Regions from separate parts of the Homo sapiens genome. Here all the other regions are linked to region 1. Evidence: promoter capture Hi-C in 16 types of primary human blood cells and fetal thymus (Javierre and others, 2016). All regions are on one chromosome and are shown on one strand. Each heading gives the region's core, a stretch centred on a gene start or on the middle of the fragment in contact. The rest is flanking DNA. Distances are from core to core; before and after follow the strand shown. Region 1 holds the start of PTH (parathyroid hormone). Region 2 overlaps SPON1 (spondin 1). Region 3 overlaps SPON1 (spondin 1). Region 4 overlaps SPON1 (spondin 1).

What was found. Contacts are between HindIII fragments. The CHiCAGO score rates a contact against its expected background, and 5 or more counts as called.
Region 2: a fragment that was not itself captured here is called in contact with the fragment with the promoter of PTH in region 1 in 2 of 17 cell types (neutrophils and total CD4 T cells); the score reaches 6.9 in neutrophils.
Region 3: a contact is called between a fragment that was not itself captured here and the fragment with the promoter of PTH in region 1, in 1 of 17 cell types (endothelial precursors). The highest score is 5.6, in endothelial precursors.
Region 4: a contact is called between a fragment that was not itself captured here and the fragment with the promoter of PTH in region 1, in 1 of 17 cell types (endothelial precursors). The highest score is 5.9, in endothelial precursors.

Annotation. Positions count from the first base shown.
Region 1 is chr11:13,493,221-13,498,796 of GRCh38, reverse strand. PTH (parathyroid hormone) reads left to right here and starts at 2,800. Exons shown (of 3, transcript NM_000315.4): 1 at 2,800-2,886. RefSeq lists an enhancer at 2,405-2,426 and promoters at 2,641-2,803, 1,796-2,855, 2,117-2,867. The HindIII fragment of the contact is 1,846 bases long and covers 2,245-4,090 here.
Region 2 is chr11:14,259,531-14,265,106 of GRCh38, reverse strand. It overlaps SPON1 (spondin 1), which reads right to left. Exons shown (of 16, transcript NM_006108.4): 13 at 5,406-5,573; 14 at 4,355-4,519; 15 at 2,132-2,395. Among named protein-coding and RNA genes, the nearest start is that of RRAS2, 97 kb to the left of the region's middle. RefSeq lists an enhancer at 5,167-5,576. The HindIII fragment of the contact is 7,755 bases long and covers 1-5,576 here.
Region 3 is chr11:14,225,003-14,230,578 of GRCh38, reverse strand. All of the region lies in intron 6 of SPON1 (spondin 1), which reads right to left. Among named protein-coding and RNA genes, the nearest start is that of RRAS2, 130 kb to the left of the region's middle. RefSeq lists enhancers at 1-45, 46-633 and a silencer at 342-636. The HindIII fragment of the contact is 2,867 bases long and covers 1,562-4,428 here.
Region 4 is chr11:14,191,075-14,196,650 of GRCh38, reverse strand. All of the region lies in intron 6 of SPON1 (spondin 1), which reads right to left. Among named protein-coding and RNA genes, the nearest start is that of RRAS2, 170 kb to the left of the region's middle. The HindIII fragment of the contact is 6,401 bases long and covers 1-5,576 here.

The DNA.
Region 1 (5,576 bases), core at 1,551-4,050:
GTGAGGTTGTGGAGAAAAAGGAACATTTATACACTGTTAGTGGGAGTGTAAATTAGTTCAACAATTGTGGAAAACAGTGTGGCGATCCCTCAAAGACTAAAAGCAAAACTACAATTTGATCCAGCAATCCCATTACTGGGTATATACTCAAAGGAATATAAATCATTCTATAATAAAGACATATGCATGCGTATGTTCATTATAGCACTATTCACAATAGCAAAGACATGCAATCAACCTAAATGCCCAACAGTGGTAGACTGGATAAAGAATACGTGGTGCCTACATACCATGGAATACTAGGCAGCCATAAAAAAGAACAAGATGGAGCTAGAGGCCACTATCCTTAGCAAACTAACATAGGAACAGAAAACCAAATATCTCATGGTCTCACTTATAATTGGGAGCTAAAAGATGAGAACACATGGACACAAAGAAGGGAACCACACACACTGGGGCTTACTGAAGGATGGAGAGTGGAAGGAGGCGGAGGATCAGGAAAAATAACTAATGGGCACTAGGCTTAATACCTGGGTCATGATATAATTAGTACAATAAACCTCCACGACATGAGTTTACCTATATAACAGGCCTGTACATGTACCCCTGAACTTAAAAGTTAAAAAATAAAAATCCATTAGTGGCTGGGTGTGGTGGCTCATGCCTGTAATCCCAGCACTTTGGGAGCGAGAGGTGGGAGGACTGCTTGAGCCAAGGACAGCCTGGGCAATTTAGCTACACTCTGCCTCCACAAAAATTTAAAAATTAGCTGGTTGTGGTGCTGTGTGCCTATAGCCCCCACTACTCAGAAGGCTGAGGTGGAAGGACTGCTTGAGCCCCGAAAGTTGAGGCTGCCATGTCCATACCACTGCACCACTCCAGTCTGAGTGACAGAGTGAGATCCTATCTCAAAGAAAAAAGAAAAACCATCTGTATTTCCAATTCTTCTTCTCAACAGAGTATAGCAGAAAAATGACACACAAACATCACATGTAGAGTTTGCATCAGAAGAGGTCTTTAAAAAGATCAAGACAACAGATTTTTACAGTTAAAAGAGACCTCTTGGTTATCTAGTTCAACTTTCTTCTATGTATGAATCTCTATAGTATGCCTGATAAATGCTCATCTACCTTCTACTTGAATATTCTCAGTGATGGAGAAATCACTATTTGAGAAGGTACTTGATTCCTTATTTTGACAATTATAATGTCCAAGTTAAACCCAATGAACCCAGCCCTTCCTTCTTAAACCACAGAGAATACTCCTTCTTCCTTATGGTAACCCTATAAATAATTAAACACAGCTATAAAGTCATCCCGTCTTTTTTTCCTCAGACTTTTCTAGTTTCATTCAACTACTTCTCATGTTATAGTTTTCAACATTTTCACCAAACTGATTGATATCCTCAGTGTATGTTCCCATTTGTTTCTACTGCTTCTAAAATGGAGCCTGGAGCAACACTCTAAGTGAGGTTAACCCAGAGTGGAGAATCTCCTAGGACAGGACTAGTATATATCTCTCATTATAAACTCCATACGGTTACTATTCAAATTTGTACTGGCTCTTACCTAAGGTAGAGTCAAACCTTGACAATGGCTAGTAGGAAAAAGGATGACATGAAGCCAGGATGGGACCAGAGCTGAGAGAACTGATCCCACTCTGGCACCGGATCTTTGGTGGGAAGGCAAAGCTGTCTAAAGGAGTCCTAGATATATCAAAGACATTCAGGGTGTTTTGACAGGTGGACCAGGAAAATATTGCTGGAGGAATATTTGAAGTCAGACATGTGGCAGCATCATGCCTCCAATAGGTTTTGGAGCAGGCTCTCATCATCCCTTAGGGAACATGAGAATAAAGACCTAACCCCTAGGGGAAAATGTTGCAAAGAGCTTTTGCTGTGTTTTCAGATGACTTTGCAAATTAAAGTCAAGAAGACTGGAGTTCAAAGAAGGGCTGTATTTCTAGGCAGAAACTGAGGTAGTAAGAATCTGGTGTCATAAAGACCTTTGTTGAATTCCATCTTTTCTGCTTTCCAAGCCTAAGTTTCCTCATGTAAAAATGGGGATAAGCACTTAACTTTAGTACTTTAAGTACTAACTTTAAAGGACTGCTGTGAAGATCTAGTGGGATAATATATGTAGTTAGGCATGCAGTTAGTGCTTATCAAATGTTATTATTATAGATTAAGATGCACAAATAAAATATAAGTTAAATAAATTTTAAAATAATTTCACTTTTGAAGCTTTTAAAGTAATTATGTACTAAGAGCATTTTCTCAAATTATTCTTAACACTTCCTTTAAGAAAAGGGCTATATCTGTTTTTTGAAAGATGACCAGAAGTGACATGGATTGGTTGAAAATGGCTTGTAAAGTAAGCCTAACATTTATGATTTATTACCATAAAAACTGTACCAACAGTACGGTTATAACAAATACACTTATTTTTGGGTTTTATTTTCAAGTAAGATAATGACTTTATCATAAACCTTTGAAATCAGTCTTTTTACAGTATAAATTCAGATTCATTAATCCACATAGAATTTTTCTCGATGGTATAATTCTGTATTTGTTAAAAGTCTTTGCATAAGCCCCTTGTCAAGCCAAATGCTGTTTTCCTTTTAGTATCCAATTATCTGAAACTTAAGAAGAGTGTGCACCGCCCAATGGGTGTGTGTATGTGCTGCTTTGAACCTATAGTTGAGATCCAGAGAATTGGGAGTGACATCATCTGTAACAATAAAAGAGCCTCTCTTGGTAAGCAGAAGACCTATATATAAAAGTCACCATTTAAGGGGTCTGCAGTCCAATTCATCAGTTGTCTTTAGTTTACTCAGCATCAGCTACTAACATACCTGAACGAAGATCTTGTTCTAAGACATTGTATGGTAAGTAAACTTAAAAATTCACTTCTGAATCTCATGAGATTTTGATAATCAAGTTATTATTTAATGTGTACCATTTCTACAAATACCATGTTGTTTCTTCAAGGTAAAATGCTAAGAAGTTTGAGTTATGTTTAATATAAAATGCCACATACAAAATAAATTAATGCTACTCAAATCACAAAATCCTTTTTGATTAAAGTCTTCTGAGATACCTTGCCTTTTAAAACCTCATCTGAAATTACAACAAAAAATCATTAAAATTTGGCATGCTATGCTTTAATATAATAGTATCGGTGTCAAAATTTTGAAATAAAACAGGTTGATGGTGAATGAATAGTTCTGATTTAAATAATCTTTATAAATTTATTAAGTGGAGTTAATATTCTGTTTTTCCTGCAGAGTATTCTTATCTAGATTATTTATTTTATGGCTCATAAAGAGCCCAATCTGTATACTAAAGTTGGATAAGCCCAGTTTGACTAGTAAATATTTATTTCCTTTACATAAATGACAGCTGTATTCTGAAAACAGTATTTCCTATGCTATTTCTAAATGATGCAGTTTCCCTGTAAAATAGGAGTACATAACTACTCTATGTGTATGTTAAAAGGTAGTACACTGAGCATTAAGGAAAAGCACTTCTATAATAACAGCCTTTGCAAGTACTGAAATGCAGATTAAGGCAAGAATATCCTATACTGATGTGAAACGAGGAAAGAGACAAAAGTTATATTAAAAGATAATTGTTAATAAAATAAGTTGAAGAAATAAGCTACAAACAAGCATTCCATTCAGAGATAAAGCTCGAAATCCATATCACAAGTAATTAATCAGATGATTTTTAAATGCTTTGACACATTATTTTTAATGCTAGGAGAAATGTGAATTAATTTAGTGAAAATCTCTAGATTAGCACCTATTAGTTTGGTATTTATGGTTATTACAATGCCTGAAATGAAGGTTACTTAAGAAAAGGATTTGCTACGTAAATAGTGTTAACAATTTACACTATGAAGAAAATTAGGCATTTTCAAGCAAGTTATAAACATTTAGGTATAATCAACATAAAATGCAGTGCGGGGGGATTTCTCAAAAATAGGCTCTTTCATTCCTCTTGTAGCTTAAGATTTCTGCAGTGTGACAGAAGGGAGCATGAGAAGCATGGCTCACCAGCCAGCCTCTATTGTCTATGTAATTAGAAGCTTCAGAACTCACTAATACCACTGTACCTTTCACTGGCGCATTACCCCATAAAACTTGAGATGAGGTGAGATCTGAGTATAAAGATAGGTCAGAAGTATTTTAAAGGGCTTAATTTGCCAAAAAGAAAAGTAAAAAGCTAGAGACCCTTTTTGCAGAACATTTGGTGACCACACATTTGAGGGAAGATGTGGCATTAGATGAAGCAGAAGCAAACCCTGCTCTTAGGGGCTCATCTAGGTGAGTGCACAGCCTGTGACACTACAGGGAGAGGCTCAGTAAACTGAGATCCAGCATTCTGTATGACAGAGGCATTGCTTATCACAGAGGTTCTGAATTTTAAGTAGGAAGTACATAATGAAGAGGGCTTTAAAAATTGCTAAGAAAGCGAGTCACCAGGGCTGGCAGTAGTGTAACAGGGCCATCCTGAGCTGTTAGGAGAGTAGATGCAGGGAGGGCTGGTGACCTCCGTGGGTTTATCTGTTGGAGACTCTTCTCTCCAAATCCCAGGCCTGGCTTCCAGCACCATCCAGCTGTGCCCAAGAAGCCACGCTGGTCTGTTCTCCAAGTCTTTTAAATGGTGCCTAATTTTTCTAAGTGAGCTTAGCAATGAGAAGAAAAAAAAAACATGAATTATTTTTCTGGAAAATCAAGGAGACATGGGTAACAACAGGCACTAATAAATATTTATAGATGAGTGAATGAGGAAATAATTACATAAAAAAGGTCAGTGACAATTGATAAATGACAAGGAAATATTTAATTAGGTAAAAGTAAACCATTGCTCTCTATACTAGGATAGACTTTATCTACTTCGTCTTTTCCTAAGTCAGCATGTTAATTCTGGGGGAGGATCATAAGAAAGGAAATACTTTTTTAAAAAAAATTTAAAAACATGTAACAAAGCAAGGGTAAAATATATGTATATACATAAGTGGTATGACTGTAAAACTGTACTTTCCATTAGTTATTAGCTGAGTTAAGAGAATGATCACGTTGAAGTACTGTGTGGACTAGAAATGTACTCTGTCATCATGCAATGAAATGTTGCTAACATTTTAACATAGCTCATTTATGCAGAATGAATTCTGGCAGTTTACCCCAAGTCACAGTTAGGACGGTAGATGGTGAGATCGCAGATGCGTGATTATCTAGATTCAGTGTTACATTTTTGATGTTTATCACTCAGTGGATTTTTATTAATATGCTGATTAAGTTATTTACTTGGCCAGTCATTGTGCTAAATAGTTGCTCTTTTGTGTTTCATTGCCTTGATGTTTGAGTGTAATCTAGCATTTTAATACAGTGTTTATTTTGCATGATCTTTAACAAATGTTTTAAGCAATTTTAAAAAGGCAGGATGTTATTGACATTATACATTGAAGTCTTAACATTTTAATATTTATAGTGCTTATTAGTTTGCAAAATTGTATAATTAGGAATTATTTCAGAGACAATGTTTTCTTTTTCAGGTGAGTAGTTGCCGCTTA
Region 2 (5,576 bases), core at 1,339-3,838, 770 kb before region 1:
GGTCCAATTGTGCCACCAGCTAGTAGTAGCCACATGAATGAGTCCAAACTAGACCCAAGAAGAACCATCCAGTGGACCCAGTTCACATCACTGATCCACAGAATCTTGCTAAGTGATTGTTTAAAAAGACTGTTTTGGGATGGCTTATGCAGCAGCCATATAAGGAACACTAAACCACTTTCTCTTATGCCTTACTCCCCAAGTACTTGGCTCCCAAATGCTAAGTATAGAGAAGTACAATTTTTGTTCTTCCTACTCAGCATAAACATGCTGCTCTCCAAGAAAACTTCCCTGACCCCAGAGATTAATTAGGTTAGATCTTTTGATTACTGCTTCCATAGCACTCTAGATTCCTCTTTTATAGAACCCACCACATTTATGGTTACACATGAGATATTTGTTAACCACACTACAGCTAAGAGTCATGGAGGAATGTACCGTACAACTATGTACCTGCCACATAGTAGGCTTTAATGAATGTTTGTTGACTGGCTGACTACCATGTAGAACAGACAGCACTTTGATATGCAAACAGCTCCCTAATCATAAGGATCCTGAACCATCAAGGAGATCCTCATGCTTCAAAAAGAATAGGCCTTTAAAAATCAGAAAACTTGATGTACATGTTAATCTTCACTTTTTTACATGGGCACCTTCAGCACTGAAGTCCCTGGCAGGCATTTTCTTTTTCTTCTGAAGTCCTGGAACTCTGAAGTTAAGCTGGAGTTTGGGGATGTATAATCTTTCTCTTGGGTTACAAATAAAACCTATCTGGCCTCTGTGTCTGTTTGCCATCCCCAAATCAGTCAACACAGGTCTGATACAGTCACCCTCTTGCTTAAAACCACCTACAGAATCAGGTCCCAAAATCCTTGGTGGGCCACTGGCCTTGTGTGGTCTGGTCCCTGCCTTCCCAGCCTGGTTTCCTGCCTGCCTTGTCCTCTGTGCTTCATCTGCATCCCATTTATCACTTGGACCTATCACTTGGACCTATCATGGTCTTTGGCATCTCTGTGCCTTTGTAATGACTATTCTTGCTGCCTGGAATGTACTTTTCTTTTTTTTTTTTTTTAATTTGAGACGGAGTTTCACTCTTGTTGCCCAGACTGGAGTGCAATGGTGTGCTCTTGGCTCACTGCAACCTCTGCCTCCCCAGTTCAAGTGATTCTCCTGCTTCAGCCTCCTGAGTAGCTGGGATTACAGGTGTGCGCCACCATGCCCGGCTAATTTTTGTACTTTTAGTAGAGATGGGGTTTCACCATATTGGCCAGGCTGGTCTCAAACTCCTGACCTCAAGTGATTGGCCTGCCTTGGCCTACCAAGGTGCTGGGATTACAGGCATGAGCCACCGTGCCCGGCCTGGAATGTACTTTTCTAAGTGGCAAACTCCTCTAGATTTTTCAAGACCCACTCTAGTTTTCCCTGCTCTGACATCTCCCTGAACTCCAGTCAATGTAAGATGATGCTCATTCCTCAGCTCCCTGAGCACTTGGTGCATTGTTCTATTAGTTATTTGTCAGCTTGGATCAATATTATTTGGGGAAATAAAACTCAAGGCTGACATGACACTGCTGATAAACTTCTGGTTAGCCTTGCAAAAAAAAATCATAAAGTCTCAGGCCACGGCTGCCTTGTCTGAGCCACACCCTTAAAATGGAAGATGATGTGTTCTGGGAGGTTCTCAGGAACATTCCCTAAATGATGAACAAGACAAGACTCCTTTGACACATCTGTATCATTTTCCCTCTTTGCAAGGAGTGAATGGTGTTGCTAAGTCATAACTGACTTTGAGCAAAGTTGGACACATTATTGGTTTTATATGTGTGTAAAGAAGGAACTGTAATTCCTAAAGATTCTTTGCTTGAAAATTTATTTTTGGCAGGTAATTAGGTTATCTAAATGTTCTTTGATAAATGACCCCCACCGCCAATCTCCTTTATAAATTATGCTTGCTCAATATTTGGGAACAAACTTGGATCTAAAGAATCAAAATGTGGCCTGAAGACTCCAGAAGATGCAGACTCTCCCCGACTTTTTTTTTTTTTTTTTTTTTAAACAGGTCCAAGACTTAGCCCAGTGCAGAACCCTGCCTGTCCTGGAGACCACCCAGGCTGACACTTGGGAGCCATACCTGGGAACTGCTCCCCTTCAGACTCTTCCTTCAGCTGCTCACTCCGCCGGCTCTCTCGGGCCTCCCTCCAGCGTAGCTTTTGGATGGATGGATTTCGAAGGCATTTTCGGATGCGGCACTTTTTTCGCTGCACAGTCTCTGGGCAGGGTGCACCTCCAAACTGAGGCTCCATTTGGATCATCCGGGTTCGAATCACGTGGCCTTTCCCACATGACTTGTTACATTCCGACCACTGGGACCACTCGGTGAGCTCACAGTCAATGGCTGGCAAGACACAGATGGGCATGAGTGTATCACATGTCTGAAACAAGATATGGTCACGCTCTCCTTTGAACATCTCAACAAGCCTATGAGGGATGCAAAGCAGGTGCTGTGTCATGCTATTTTACAGAAGAAGAAACTGAGGCTCCAAAGAGGCAGGCTGACTTCAGCCCGTGTGGTTGGTAAGCAGCAGAGGCAGGATTGGTGCCAGGTCATCACCCATTCTATGCTCCCTCTATGACTCAAGAAGGCTTTGGAGGACTTTCAGGATGTGTTCAGAGCCTCTTGCCCTGCTCTGTGAACTAGAATATTGTCAGATCAGCCTCAAGTACAGAATAGCTTCCCACAGTCCCAAACTCACTGGTGATATTTTTCAGAGCAAGGCCAGCAAGCCCCCTGCTGCTCTTTGGAGAGAACAAGTCAACAAGCTAAAGGCGGCTGACCCTTGTGGACCAATACCAAGGACATTGTGGTTCTAACACACCCTGGCAGCTTTTCATTCTCAACATCATCCTGTGTTCTATATATGGTGGTCTATGCAAAAAACACAGGAGCCAGAAATGGGACATTCAGTAGAGAAGAGGGTCAGGAGCAAGTGGTGCTTTATGGTTTATCGAGATCCAGTAAATTCTTACTAAGCCAGCATCTCATAAATGTGAAAGGAAAATAACACATCAGTTTGACTGTCAGGATGTGTCCCAGGGAGGTAAATTATTCCAAGCTCTCTGTTGGTCTTGCAAGGCCAAAGTCAGGGTGGTGGACTTAGATGTCCTCATTTAGTTCAACAGTTTCAGTTCTTTTATCCCGCCTGTGGAAGCTCAGGCAGCTTTCTTATCTGCAAAATGGGGATCATGGTATTTTTTTTTTCATTAGGTTGTAAGGATTAAATGAGATGCTCCCAGCCCTGTAAGTGCTCCATAAATTTTCATTTTCTTCTCCCTTACTTCAGTGGACCCCAGGCACTCTAAGTCAGAAGGCTATGGGGCCCCAACTCTGGTGAGCTGGCCTGAACCATGGGCCAATCTTAGTTACTGAAAACCCCAGGCTTTCTCTAGTGGGTGGTCCAAGTTACCTCCACCCATGGCTGAGTCTCCTAAAACAACCCAGGAGCTGGAGCATGGAGCAGGGATTAAGTAAGGCCTATCCTTGCCATGTCCAGTGCTCATACTTTGGACCAATTACTTGGTTTCATCCTCAGAGCAACCTAGGAAGTATTTCCTGCTATTTTACAGATGGAGAAACTGAGGAACAGAGGTGCTGAGTCATCGGCTGAAGGTTACTAGCTAGGGGAGGGAGGATGAACGACTGCAAGTACATGCTGGAGGGGGCCAGAGCCACAGCCAGTGTGCCTGCCCTTTTACCACCCAAAAAAGCAGCTCTTGGAAGACCAGCCAAGGAAACTGGCTTGCTCTGCTTGGAGATTAGTCCCATGTAATATAAACAGCTGATCGCAGAGACTTTGGAAAACAGGACTGGGAGTGGAGCGGGGTGGGGTGAGTTTTTGAGAACTTGGCTTGTTTTCTTGCTGGTTTTCTTACCAGTCTGCAGGAGTCATTGATTTAATGTCCAGCCTCTGGTCATGGGGAATTAAAATGGTCACAGGGAAAATAGAATTAAAATGCTTGGAAAATCCATGGGTCAGGCAAGCCTATAATTGTTGGGGGAGAGGAGGGAAAGAACTAAGGTTTATTGAGCTTTGTGCTGTTTTTCGTATGTGTCTGTCATTTAGACTTCACAGGAACCTTAACTTTGGGTGTTCTGTAGACGGTAGTGGGATTCTCACTTTATTAATGAAACTGACTGCAGTGTTTAAGTAACTGCAAACACTGAAAGCCAAACCCCAAACTCTTCCCCAGCAAACCATGTTATTCTAGGATCTAGCAGTATTAGCACTGGCTGGTTCGGGGCTCCCTGGACTCAGGAACATAGAAGTGATGGGCCTTGAGGAGCTCCAGGACTTACGGCATTCAGGGAGCATGCACTTCTCCACCTGCTCCAGATCCTCATTGCAGTCTCCAAGTTCTGCCAGAGACTTGAGCATCCGCTGTCGGGTTCGCATGCCCTTCCCGCAGGTCACGCTGCAGTCACTCCACTCGGACCATGGGGACAGCAAGCATGGGATGGTGTCTAGATCAAGAACCAGGTTTGCCACTGAGAACAGGTTCCTTTTGTTTTCGTTGATCTCCCTGACCCCACAGTGTTCCACACCGAGTCCCCTGCTTTGGCCCCTGGAATAAAGTGGAATTGGCCCATGGGTTCAAATAAGAGTGAAATCTATGGAGCAAGAAGTGGCTCAGCAGCCTACTGCTCTTCTTTTCACTCTCTTTCATCTCCCTGCTGACCCCCCCCGATGGTTATGACATGAGGGTAGCAATATGACTACATAAGTCCCCACTAGAAAGGCCACTGAGGATCTTAGCAGGGTCTTCCTAGAGACAGAAACATCCCACACTCACTAAGAATCAGGCACTAAAGGAGAGGCTCAGGGATGCATTTTTGGACATTGTCCTGAATTCCCTAGAATGTGTATATACTTGTGTGCCTGTATACATCTGCATACTAATGTGTGGGCAGGCCCATATGCATTTGTGCACAGAGCAGGGGAGGTCATGCTTTATGGGATCAGCCAAGTCCAATGTACAACAGGAGTGGGAGGAGTGGGCTGGACCTGGGTAATGTATGTCCCGCCTAAATGTATTGGCCCTCCTCCCCACCACTGCAAGAAAGACACTCCTATAAAACACAGCTGCAGGTGAATTCTCTATCCAGAGGCCACCAGTTTGCCACCCCAGCATTGCTTAGAATGTCCCCCAGTGGAGGTTACTCTCTCTGGGTCTGGTTGATGTCTACACACCTATGTCTCTCATCTGGCTCCCAGCAGTGCCCAGCAAGGACCATGGGCCATGCTTTCCTCTGCTCAGCCTCCGACCTTTATGGTGGTAATAGTGGATGCCATGGCCCTCCACGCCTGTCCCCAGTGGCCTCCTCCAAGTCCACCCCCGCTCTCACTCACGGCACTCTGGCATCATGCACTTCTCTGCCTGTGATGTCTCGGCTTTGCACATGGAGCCATCTGCGGGGTTCATCTTGATCATGCGGTGCCGCTTCTTCATGCCCATGCCGCAGGTGGCGCTGCACTCGTCCCACTCGCCCCACTCGGTCATCAGGCAGCTGCTGGGAGCTG
Region 3 (5,576 bases), core at 1,746-4,245, 730 kb before region 1:
GGAAGGTGGGCAGGGGGACAGAGCGCCATGGCAGGGGTAGAATTCATAAGATAGCTGATGAGTTCTTCACTTGACAATTTTAAAGAGTGTTAGGCTTTGTTAGGCAAGGAGTATCTTTAAAGTAACGGCAGTTTCAAAAGAAATGAGAATTCATCCACACACCAATATCTCCTTCTCCTTCTCTTTCTTTACTTAGAAATGTCTGACGCAGGTGTTATTCTGGCAGCCTAGTTTGCTGGGTCTTTAAATGTAATAACATTTCACTTCATCATCTCCCTTTATCAACTGATTTCCATAAAAAGCTTTCAAATTATTAAGTAATGAAGCTCCAAGTGACCCGAATGGGGGAGAAGTAAGTGTGCTTTAAGGTGTTCAGCACATTAGTATCAAATAAGGATCCTGGGAATGCTGCTTTCTTAAATGCGGCTATTTAAATGCAAAGTAACAGCTCTCCTAAGCTGTGAAAGGTTAACCCTTTTCATTCTCGAGTACCCCACATATTTGAGGTTTGGGGAGAGACTTGGGAGATGACAGGAGAAATTTTGTGTTGTGGCAGACACTAAAGGGTGTCCGTTCTAGGAATTTGAGAACACACACACACACACACACACACACACACACACACACGGACACACAGACAGACAGACAGACACACACACACAGGCTGGCCTCTCTTCCAGGTTTCCCATGGTAACAGAAGTTTCTCTGACTGTGAAAACGCTCTTTTAGTTATTTTCGTGGCTCACGGAGCAGGAATTGAAGAGCGGTATGGTGGAATAGGCAGACCGAGGGTTCAGCTCTTGGCTTGGTCACTTATATGCTGCGCAAGTTTGGGGAAAGTGCTGTCCTCTCTGAACCTGACTCTTTGTCTGTAAAACACATGTTAATGAGCTCCTTTCTGGGTCGGACACTGTGCTGGGCTCCCGTCACAGGGCAGTAGACCAGACAGACTGCCCTTGTGGAGCTTGTTCCCTACTGGGTTAATCACAGTGCATGGAGGTTAAATGAGACGGTATCAGTCAGGGCCAGGTGAATAGTAATGAAGGGGGTGCCTCTGATGACTTAATCATACTGGCAGGCTCTCCACTCCGCTTCTGTCAGTGCGACCTCTCACTACTGCCTGACCCACCTTTTGACCAAATCTCCTACATCACCTGTCATGCCCACGCACCAAAGGCTCATGCTTTTGCATTGGATCCTTCTGTCTGGAATGCTCCTGCCCTTGTCCCCTCAAGCCACTCCTCTTCTGAAAAGGCTTACTGATGACCCAAGACTCTCAGATCCTCTTTGTCCATGATTATTTGTTCACTCGTATAAAGGTATCTTCCCCACCAGGTGTCTAGCAAAGTACCCACGTCATAGTATGTGCCTGATCAAATATGTTGAATGAATGTTCAATCAAGTTTTTATTCCCAAATATTACATGTGAATTGTGAGAGGATCTGTCCATCATGATTACTGCCACCCAAAGAAGTATTCGTAAAACTTTGTGATTGTCACACCACGGAGATATCACAGGTATATGCAGCAATTCCCAGCAGAGGTAACTGGGGTGGAAGCTTCCTAACCTTCCTCTTTCTTGGAGTAGGTTCTGAAGACCTCTAGGGGCCTGTAAATATGTTGTTAGAGTCTTCTTAGTTCTCTGTGGGAATTTAAACATTTATATTTATATTTTTGTGAGAATAAAATAATAGATTGTGTACATATTAAGGATCATCTCAAAGATCTAGTCAAGCATCACCAGGCAGTTCAGTGGCTGGGATGCATTTGTTTTCACATCTCACGGTTGCCCTATACAACTTTATTGTGCGTTAGTGTGGAAGACAATGTGACGCTCTGTCCAGATCTCTCTTCAGGAGTGAAGGACTTACTTCCCAGCTGCAGGGATGATGGTAAAAGGTTGCTCTTAGCTGTCAGTTCTTTGGCATTGGCTAGATAACACAGCCTAATGTGAGGTCAAACTTCCTTCCAGGGTGACCCTCATCCAGTGATCCTCCAGGGGCACAAAGGTCAGTGCTCTTGTCCCCAAGGCAGGACAACTCTGAAGAGCCACCCAGCCCAGTGAGTTGGTTGGTAGAGGTCTTTGTTGGGCCTGCGACACAGCTCAACTTCTCCCTCTGCACATCCTGCTTCCTTCCCCTGCCTCCCACAGCTGTGGTTCCCAAGAACATTCTTTGGTAACTTCCTGCACTCTAATCTTGATGCAGGTCTCCTTCCCAGAGAACCCAGCTGCTAAAGAGAGTGGGTTCTAAAAGGAAAGCAGAGTTAACAAATCAAAGACATTTTGACTAGGTAAAGCCCAAAGGATACGTGTGCTGCTGCCTGAACAATGTGTTGTCAGTGGTTGGAAGAACAGTGGGAGAACTGAGTTAGCCCAAAGGGCCCTGGTGTATGCATACCAAACTCGGAAGGACCCAGGCTACGAGGGTCAGCATTGCATCGAGATTGTGAGCAGTCATTTAATTTCAGCAAAACAGCATCACCCATCACATTAAAGCAATGTTCTTAATTAGCATTTAAAGTGTTTGCAGTTTTATTTGTGTTATTATTAGTATCACTATTTTGTTTTTATCATCTTAAGAGAGCTATAAGCATAAGGAGTTCATATCTGGTTATCTTTGCACATATTTAAATAATATGATAATGAAAATCCTTATAACTCAACCTTGGGTGTTTGTGAGCTTGTATTTGCCCTTTAAAAGAGATCTATACATTACGCAGGTTTGGGAATTATTTAATTTTGCAAAAGCATGGTATTAAGAGGCTGGGTTTTGGAGGGTCTGTGGCTTAACTGTGTAACCCTGGGAATGTTACTTAACTCTTTGAGCCTTGATTTTCTCATTGGTAAAATGGGGATAATAATCTACCTTACAGGCCTGTTCCAAGGTACAAATGAGCTGTAAATAAATGTAGAATGATTTCAAAGTTTCTGACACATATTAAGTGCTCAATAAATGGCAGTAGTTAGGAGAGGCCGAACAATAAAGAATGCACCTCTCTGTAAGCCCTTTCCAAGCCTGGCCTGGAAAAAGTCAGTGGTCTGCATCCATCCCTGACAGAGAGCAGGAGGAGGGGTTTTGGGTGAGTTATTTTCAATAGAAAGTCAGAGTTAAATTTGCTTAAAAGCCAGCCAGCAAGCAAGCAAACAAATACTAAGGCCTCAAGGCACACAAAAGTGAAAGGTTAAAATAGAAAACTGTGAAGAGCTATGGCCTAAATTTAAATTCAGGGAATCTTACATTTAGGGACCACTTAATAAATGAAATAAAGCTGGGTGTAGTGGCTTGTGCCTGAAGTCCCTGCTATTTGGGAGGCTGAGTAGATGGATCACTTGAGGCCAGGAGATTGAGACCAGCCTGGGCAACATAGTGACACTGCGTCTCTACAAAAATAACTAAATAATAACTAAATAAATGAATGAAACGAATATTGCCATGGTAAGCTGAGTAACGGCCCCCCAAAATATCTACATCCTGATCCCTGGATCCTGTGAATGCTTCATTATATGTCCACAAAGGCCTTGCAGATATTGTTAATGATCTTGAGATGGGGAGATTGTCCTGGATTATCAGGGTAGGCCCTAAATATAAGTGTCTTTACAAGACAGAGGCACAGGGAGATTTGACTAAAGGAGAGGGGAAGGTACTGTGATAATGGAAGCAGAGATTGGAATGATGTGGCCACAAGCCAAGGAAGACTGGCAGCCACTGACTGTGCAATGGAGCCTCCCGAAGGAACCAGCGCTGCTTGTATCTTGACTTCAGCCCTGTAAGACTCATTTTGGACTTCTAACCTCCAGAACTGTAAGAGAACCAATTTGTGTTACCCCAAGGCACCAGATTTGTGGGTAATTTGTTACAACAGCAACAGGAATGGATATAATTCCTATGGGCCCTGCTTGCCTTTTTGATTAGTGAGTCTAATGAAAATAAAAGGCAGACAGTCCCTGACTTAAGATAGTTTGGCTTAACAATTTTTTGACTTTATGATGATGTGAAAGCTATATGCATTCAGTAAAAATTGTACGTCGAATTTTGACCTTTTCTGAGGCTAGCAATTTGTGATATGATACTCTTGTGGTGCTGGACAGCAACAGTGAACCACAGCTCCCAGTCAACCACTCGATCACAAGGGTAAACAACCGATACTGTACAGTGTACTGTGTTGCCAGCATTTTTTGGATATTGTATTTTGTGTTTTCACATCCCATTATGTTTTAAAAAATGTCAGTTTTCCACTTAGGATATTTTCAGCTTCCAGTGGGTTCACTGGGAAGTAACCCCATGGTGGGTAAAGAGGCATCTGTAACTAAAACCTGTCATTAGAAGGGAGCAGTGTAAAGGGCATTCCTATTCAAGTCCGAAGAGCTTGATCTGAATCCTCTCTCTCTACTTCCTAGCTGTGTGATCTCAGGCCAGTCAGTAAGCTTCTATGAGCCTTACCTTCTTCATCTCTAAAATGGACTAAAGTGAACTCAAACACTTAGAGTTGTAAAGATTAAATGTTAGAACACTTTATGAACCATACAACTATGTGCACTATTTATCATTACTGGTATTACAAATTTTTAAAAATCCAAATTGAAGATTGTAATCAAAATGCCACCTTTTAGGAAGATGGCCCGATGATGCATACAATGTCTAAGACATTATATAGACAAACATTTGATTTAGGCCCAGCAAGAAAGTGCTTTAGAACATGGTGCTGAAAAATCTCAGCTGTTAGACCCCTGTCTGCAGTTCTCTTAAACATCACGTACTTAAACCAGAGCTTCCTTTCAACTCCTTACTTTTGCAACCCTGTAGACGTATGGTGATATTATTGTCACTTGGACTTCTCTCTGATAAGATATTTTATTTTCTTTAAAAAGAGAGTATCAATAATCCGATCTTCTCTAACTATTGGGCAATTTTGCTGTACTTGAGGTTTCCTGAAATATAAATGATGGAAATAATCCATGCCTGAAGCTGTAACAATAAAAACGACGATTATTTTTCAAACTCAAGACTATTCACGTCTTCAGTCTATCTTCATTGGCACAGCACAATCTCCAAAGCAAAAGGAAGAAAATAAATAGCTTAGAAGTTTGAAGTTGGATCCTATCAACAACCTCCCCTCCCATTTCTAATTCAATCAAGCATTTCCTTACTCAGGCAGTAAGGAGAGAGGATGCTGTTTGGATCGAAACTATGTATAGTTTTGTTTTTTTAAAAAAACATTTTTATAATAAATTTTTCCGTATACAAAATATGTTCTTTGTAGAACACTTAGAAAATAGACACAGGCAAAAGGAATAATATAAAAACAATTCATAATCCCACTACCCACAGATAACCATTGTTACTTTTTACATTGTAAGCCAGAAAAAAAGACATGCTGGTATGCCCGAGTGTGACATTTATGGACTCAACGAAGCAGCTTAATTCTAATGATAATACCCTGGATTCTATATTCCTCCATGCAGCTGGGCCCTGCTGTGAGTGAGCAGACCTGGCTTAGGAAAATTCACATCCATAGCCTGAGAAATCATAAAGGAATGGCGCCCTCAGCCACACCCTGGAGAGGCTTCCGTCACT
Region 4 (5,576 bases), core at 1,159-3,658, 700 kb before region 1:
GCTGGGGACAATTTTAGACATGTTCTACTTCAGTGAAAGTGAGAAAGTGGAAAGACCACTGGTTGGAAATGAAGGAACAAGGATGTTTGATCTGTTTTCCTCCCTCTATTCTGTCCTTCTACAAATGTTTACTGAGCACATTTTTTTTTAAAATAGCAGCTTTATTGGGATATATTTTATATAACATACAATTTACCTCTTTAAAGTAACTCAATAATTTTTAGTATCGTCACAGTGTTGTGTAAACATCACCGCAATAGATTTAGAACATTTTCAATGGCCCCACCAAAACACCCATCCATACTCGTTAGTTGTCACTCCCCATCTTCCCTCCCATCCACAAGCCTAGGCAACCACTAATCTACTTTCTGTTTCTGTAGATTTCTCTATGCTGGACGTTTCCATGCACCTGTTCTATATCAGGCCTAAGGCCAGGAGAAGGGAGCTATAGCCACCCCCATCTTCTCTCCCCCTGAGAAGCTCTGGTATTAGAGGACACATCGCCTATCCTTCATGGGCTTCAATTTTTTTTCTCCTATAAAATGAAAGGGATGGAATTTGGACTCCCTTCTACTTTAAAGACTCTACTTTAAAATTTAGTCCTAGAGAAAATCATGAGGCAAATGGTGGATAGCTGGGGAAACAGGAATTTTCAACTGCTCTTATTAGAAACAGAAAATGTTTCTAGAGGCACATGGTAGTATGTATTAAAAGCACTAAGAATGTATACACCCTCAGACCCAGAAATTTCACTTCTAGGATGATCCTTAGGTATTCATTAAGGATGGTTGCAAAGTTATATGTACATAGCTAATCATGACAATGTTGCTATGAAACTGTGAAATAAATGTCTGACAATAGAGGCTGTGACTCCCAAATCCACTCCCCACCAACAGAGCCCCAGTTAAGAACCCTGCTTCCAGACTATGCCTTGTAGGACTGTCCATCCTCAAATTGGCCTTTCTGCAGCCTCTGCATGCCATGAACTCTGAGTTCACTGCCCACTAAAACCTGCAAACTATTTTTATTCCCAATACTGTTATTTGATCTTGTAATTGTGCTGTTGCTTCCAGGCCCAAGTATAGGACCTGACATTTCACCCTCAAGTCTCAAGTATTATGCTCATGGGCATAATTTGACCGGCACTGTAAGAATTCCATGGTATTACAGTGTTTCTGATTGTGGCATTATGTTGTATTGTGTTTAATAATTCCAGCTTTTGTCCTTTGATTCCAGGCCTTTTCCAATCATTTTTGTCTTTGCCATTAATATCCCACACCCTTTCAATGTATAAATAACTTCTACTTTGCCAGAGAGCTGAAAGCCTGACACTTTTATTGCAAGGTATCTTTGAGCTTATTTATGATCAAATGGATATGACTTCATGAAGGGCTTTGCACACCAGATTGATCAGAGGCAGCCATTTTCTGAACTCTGCATAGCATTTAATAGAAGTGTAATTTAGAAGTTGAAAAGAAAACATGCTATTTTTGAGATTTTTAAGAGGGCAGAGTATGTACTTTTGAAAAAGACATTCTTTCTGGCTACTTAGTAATTACATGTGGTAAGGGTGCTAAATCGAACATTATGTAGAGTAAGCACCATTCCACCCCACTTGCTCACCACTAAAGACGTTTCAATATTTCAGTGACTTCAACCAACAAAGATTATCATGTAAACATTTCACGTAGACTGCCCCCTCTAGCATTTTCAAGAATTTACCCATGCTTTCCTTTCTTTGTCATTCATTAAAGGTAGAATAAATATTTACTTTAGGTTTACCTTTAAATTTAGGATTTCCTCCTACAATAAACATATTAATAAAATAAATTTTAAAAATATTTCCTAACCTGGAATAATTGTGCAAGCCAGTGTTTTACCCTAAAATCATTTTTAGAAGAATCCCTTTACTTGCAGTTTGATAACAACTAATTTATTCTGTAGCTAATTCAATTACTTTGTAATTAGCTTACCAGAGCAGGAAAGAAGACAAAATAAATGTCTTTGTGATTGGTCCCTTGTAATGAAATAGATGAGCGAGTGTAAATACACACTTTTATTGTACCAGCCACGCAGGCAGTCCGTGTGTGTGTGTGTGTGTGTGTGTGTGTGTGTGTGTGTGAAGTAGGCCTAGATTCCCATTAGTTCTTTCCCACTGTTTCTTAGCATTCTCCCACTTGAGGGTTTTCTGTGGATGTTTCACCACTGAAATTTATCCTTGAGCTTTGAGCTGACCCAGTGGCTGGCATTTGCCATTCAAGTTGGAGTTGCTAATGAAGTTCAGTTTGTATTTGCTGTTTAGGGAGCTGAAGGAAATGGAGGACTGGCAGATTATTCAATTCCATGCCCATAGGTGTATGCTGTGTAAGGACTCAGAGGAAGAGGAATCTAGAGCTTTTGTCAAGTACCCTAAATATTGACTCTCGCACACCAATGGGAAGATTTAATAGGCATATTTTACCTCACCAGTGAGGGATGAGTGGAAAGACAAAAACCTAGGAAGGGTGAAGTTTTATCCTGAACCAAAAGGGCTAGAACCACTGGCCTGTGCTGGGCACAGGATGAGGAGCCTCTGGCAGTCCCAGTGGATCTGAAGATATTTCTAAAACGTGTTCCTTGGGCAAGCTGTGCAGCAGCTCAGCTTCACCAGGGGCTCAGCAGGGGTCCTTCTGTAAACTGCTGCCTTTCAGAGGCACTTCTGAGAGTATCACAGCCCTTGGTGAGCTCCTCAGGGAAGCAGCATACTCTGAAAGCCATGAGTGGCCACCACTGTCAAAAGGCTCTGTGGGAATCCTCTGTAATGGCTGTGTGATGGGCAAGGTCTCACCGTGTGGCCCTGCCATGAGCCCTCCTGGATGTCAGAGGAGAGAGTATAGACTGTCTGAGAGGCATGTGTTAGCTGACTGGATTCCCCAGCTAGCACTGCCTCAGGGATTCCAGGCAATACCCGAGCTTTGAAGGCAGAGTCTCAGCTCTGCTTGTCTGAGGAGGGCCAGAGAGGGAAAAGGCAGAGCCTCAGAAGACTGGACACTAAAGGAGACCCTCTTCCCCAAGCATCCCACAAAGTGACATTGAATGTGAGTTCACTTAAAATGCACTTTAAGGTCACATAAAGTGAAACCAATGACCACCCCTGTTACCTTTGTGACAAGCAGAGCTCACCATCCTCAAAAACCTTGGAGCAAGATGATATTTATATATATGTGTGCATACGTTTACCACAACTCCTCCTGGGCGTTATACACCTTCACAAGCTGTCAGTGATGAGGTTCGGCATGGGGTACCTTCAAGATTGGGGTGGCGTGGCAGTGCGAGTGAGGCTTGGGTCCTCTCTGGAGGGAGAACTGTTCTGATCATCTCCCAGGCCTTCCTGCCAACACTTCCTGGTTCTGATCTTAGAATCTCAGGACCATCCTGCTTTTACCCTGTTTCTCACCACACTTGCTGCTGACACTGCTTTTCCTCCATGCGTGTGGCCTTGGCACCATTGAAATAATTTTCCAGTGCCTGATCTCAACTGTGTCCAATATTTGGCTTCATCATTTACATTTTGGAGCAAATACATCAGAGACTTGCTCTGCTGGTGCACGAGTTTAGACTGTCTTTTCTGTGTTGTAATTTATCCGTCTTTTGCATAGGAGCTGCATGCATTCTGCTCTGGTTTCTTCAAATGCACACAGCAAGTTGGTGGGAAACACCAGTTTGGATGCCTGCACTCTACCCCGAGAATTCCTCTAGAAATGTCCATTTGAATGCTCTTCACTCACCAGCATCTCTGGTTTGGTTCTTTACCTTGGTTGTACATTTTCATTTTATTCCTCAGTTTGGACTATATTGGACTAGAATTTGATGTTCTCCCCCGGGCACAACTTCCTGTCCCACCTCTTTCCAGACGTTGCATCCTGTGATGGGGGCGGGGGGTGGGGCACCTCACTCCTAAGCCTTGTCTTTGTCCTGGCCTTACCAGGTCTGTTTTTTTGCCTGATTTCAGTCAGGGGTATGTGTGGCTTGGAGGAGGGTGTACCGTGAGGGAGGGCATTTGGACAATAGTCTGACAAACAGCTCACTGTCACCCTTTCTGCTTAAATTCACCTTTTGTACCCCTGTAAGAGATTGATCCATCTCTACGCACATTGACGGGGCAGCTTCAGAAATCCTTTTTCTACTTCTCTTTCTATATTTAGAGACAGGCAAATATATCTCTACTTTTATGCATAATAAATTCTTTAAAATGTCAAAGCTACAAATGACTTATTCATTTATTCAACAAATATTTATGGAGCATCTATTATGTGCAAGGCACTGAGGACATAACAGTGAATGACAGACATACCCTAGCAGAGTGCCAAGTAGGAGAAGACTTCATTTTCAGTAATCCTAATATATATATATATATATATATATCCCTAATGATACCTTGTCTTTTAGCCATAAGTTGTTACCAATATTTTTAACATTTCACACATATTTTAAAATTTTGTTTTCCTTCAGAATTGAACACATGGTTGACTGGTGTAACCCAATGACTATCCAGGGCTAATGTTATTCTGTTTTCAGGATGCCTCATAATTTTCTTTATTTTCTGAAGTATATTATGAGTTTATAAAACCCACGCTTCTGATTACTTTTGTTCTTTTGGTTGATCATTCTTACTACTAAACTGATAAGGGCAAAATACAATAAAATCCTCAATTATACAAACATGGCTGTAAAAACTTCATGGCTGGCTGGCATTTGGTGTTTGAAAGGCAGTGTAGAGGGGTCAATGTTTAATGTATGAAAGTAAAGATTATTTGAAAGTTGAATACATGAAAATACAGGACTCCTTGGATTCTGACTGTCTCTTGTCTGACCATTACAGCTTTCATAATCAGCATAATTTTGGCAGAAAGTAGATTTCCAGCTGTTTCAAGTCACAGATGTATTCTTTTCTGGGCTGTTCTAAAAATATGCACAGGCTGTTTTCTTAACTTTTAAATCACAATTCTCTTGATGGGTTTTTGCTTTCATTTGGGATCCTTTGGCCCAGGACTGTGTGCAACAGTGAACTGCATGCAAACTTACTCTGGAAGGAATTTTCTAGAGCCAGGAAGTCAGAGTCCGTGCTGTCTACTCCTTTCACTCATTGTTTCACAGTGTGCGGGTCCTGAACGTTCATGAAGAACAAAATGTGCCTGCCTGTTTTAAGTGTGTGGGGAAGGAAGAAGGAAACAACTCTACATTTAAGGAGTTCTACTTGAGAGGAGGTGGGACTGGAAGATCTGTGGGAGAGGCAGAAAGCTCAGCACAAGGTTATAAATTAAGGGGAGAGTTTAAACTGTGAAGGCATCATCCTTTGTATATAACATAACCTACGAGTGCTTCCTAGGCAGAGACTAGTTCTCATTGGTCCACCTTCCATCACTGCCGTGGCCAGTTGGGGCAGGCATTGGATTCCCTGCCCCAGGCCACCAGAGGCAGCAGCGGACTCAGAGAGGGTAGGATGAGCAATGTATTTTTTAAATGATGTGGTTTAAAATAACATTTCACTCTTCTTTTGAGGAACTTCACAAAGTATTCAAGGCTAAAAGACTTGA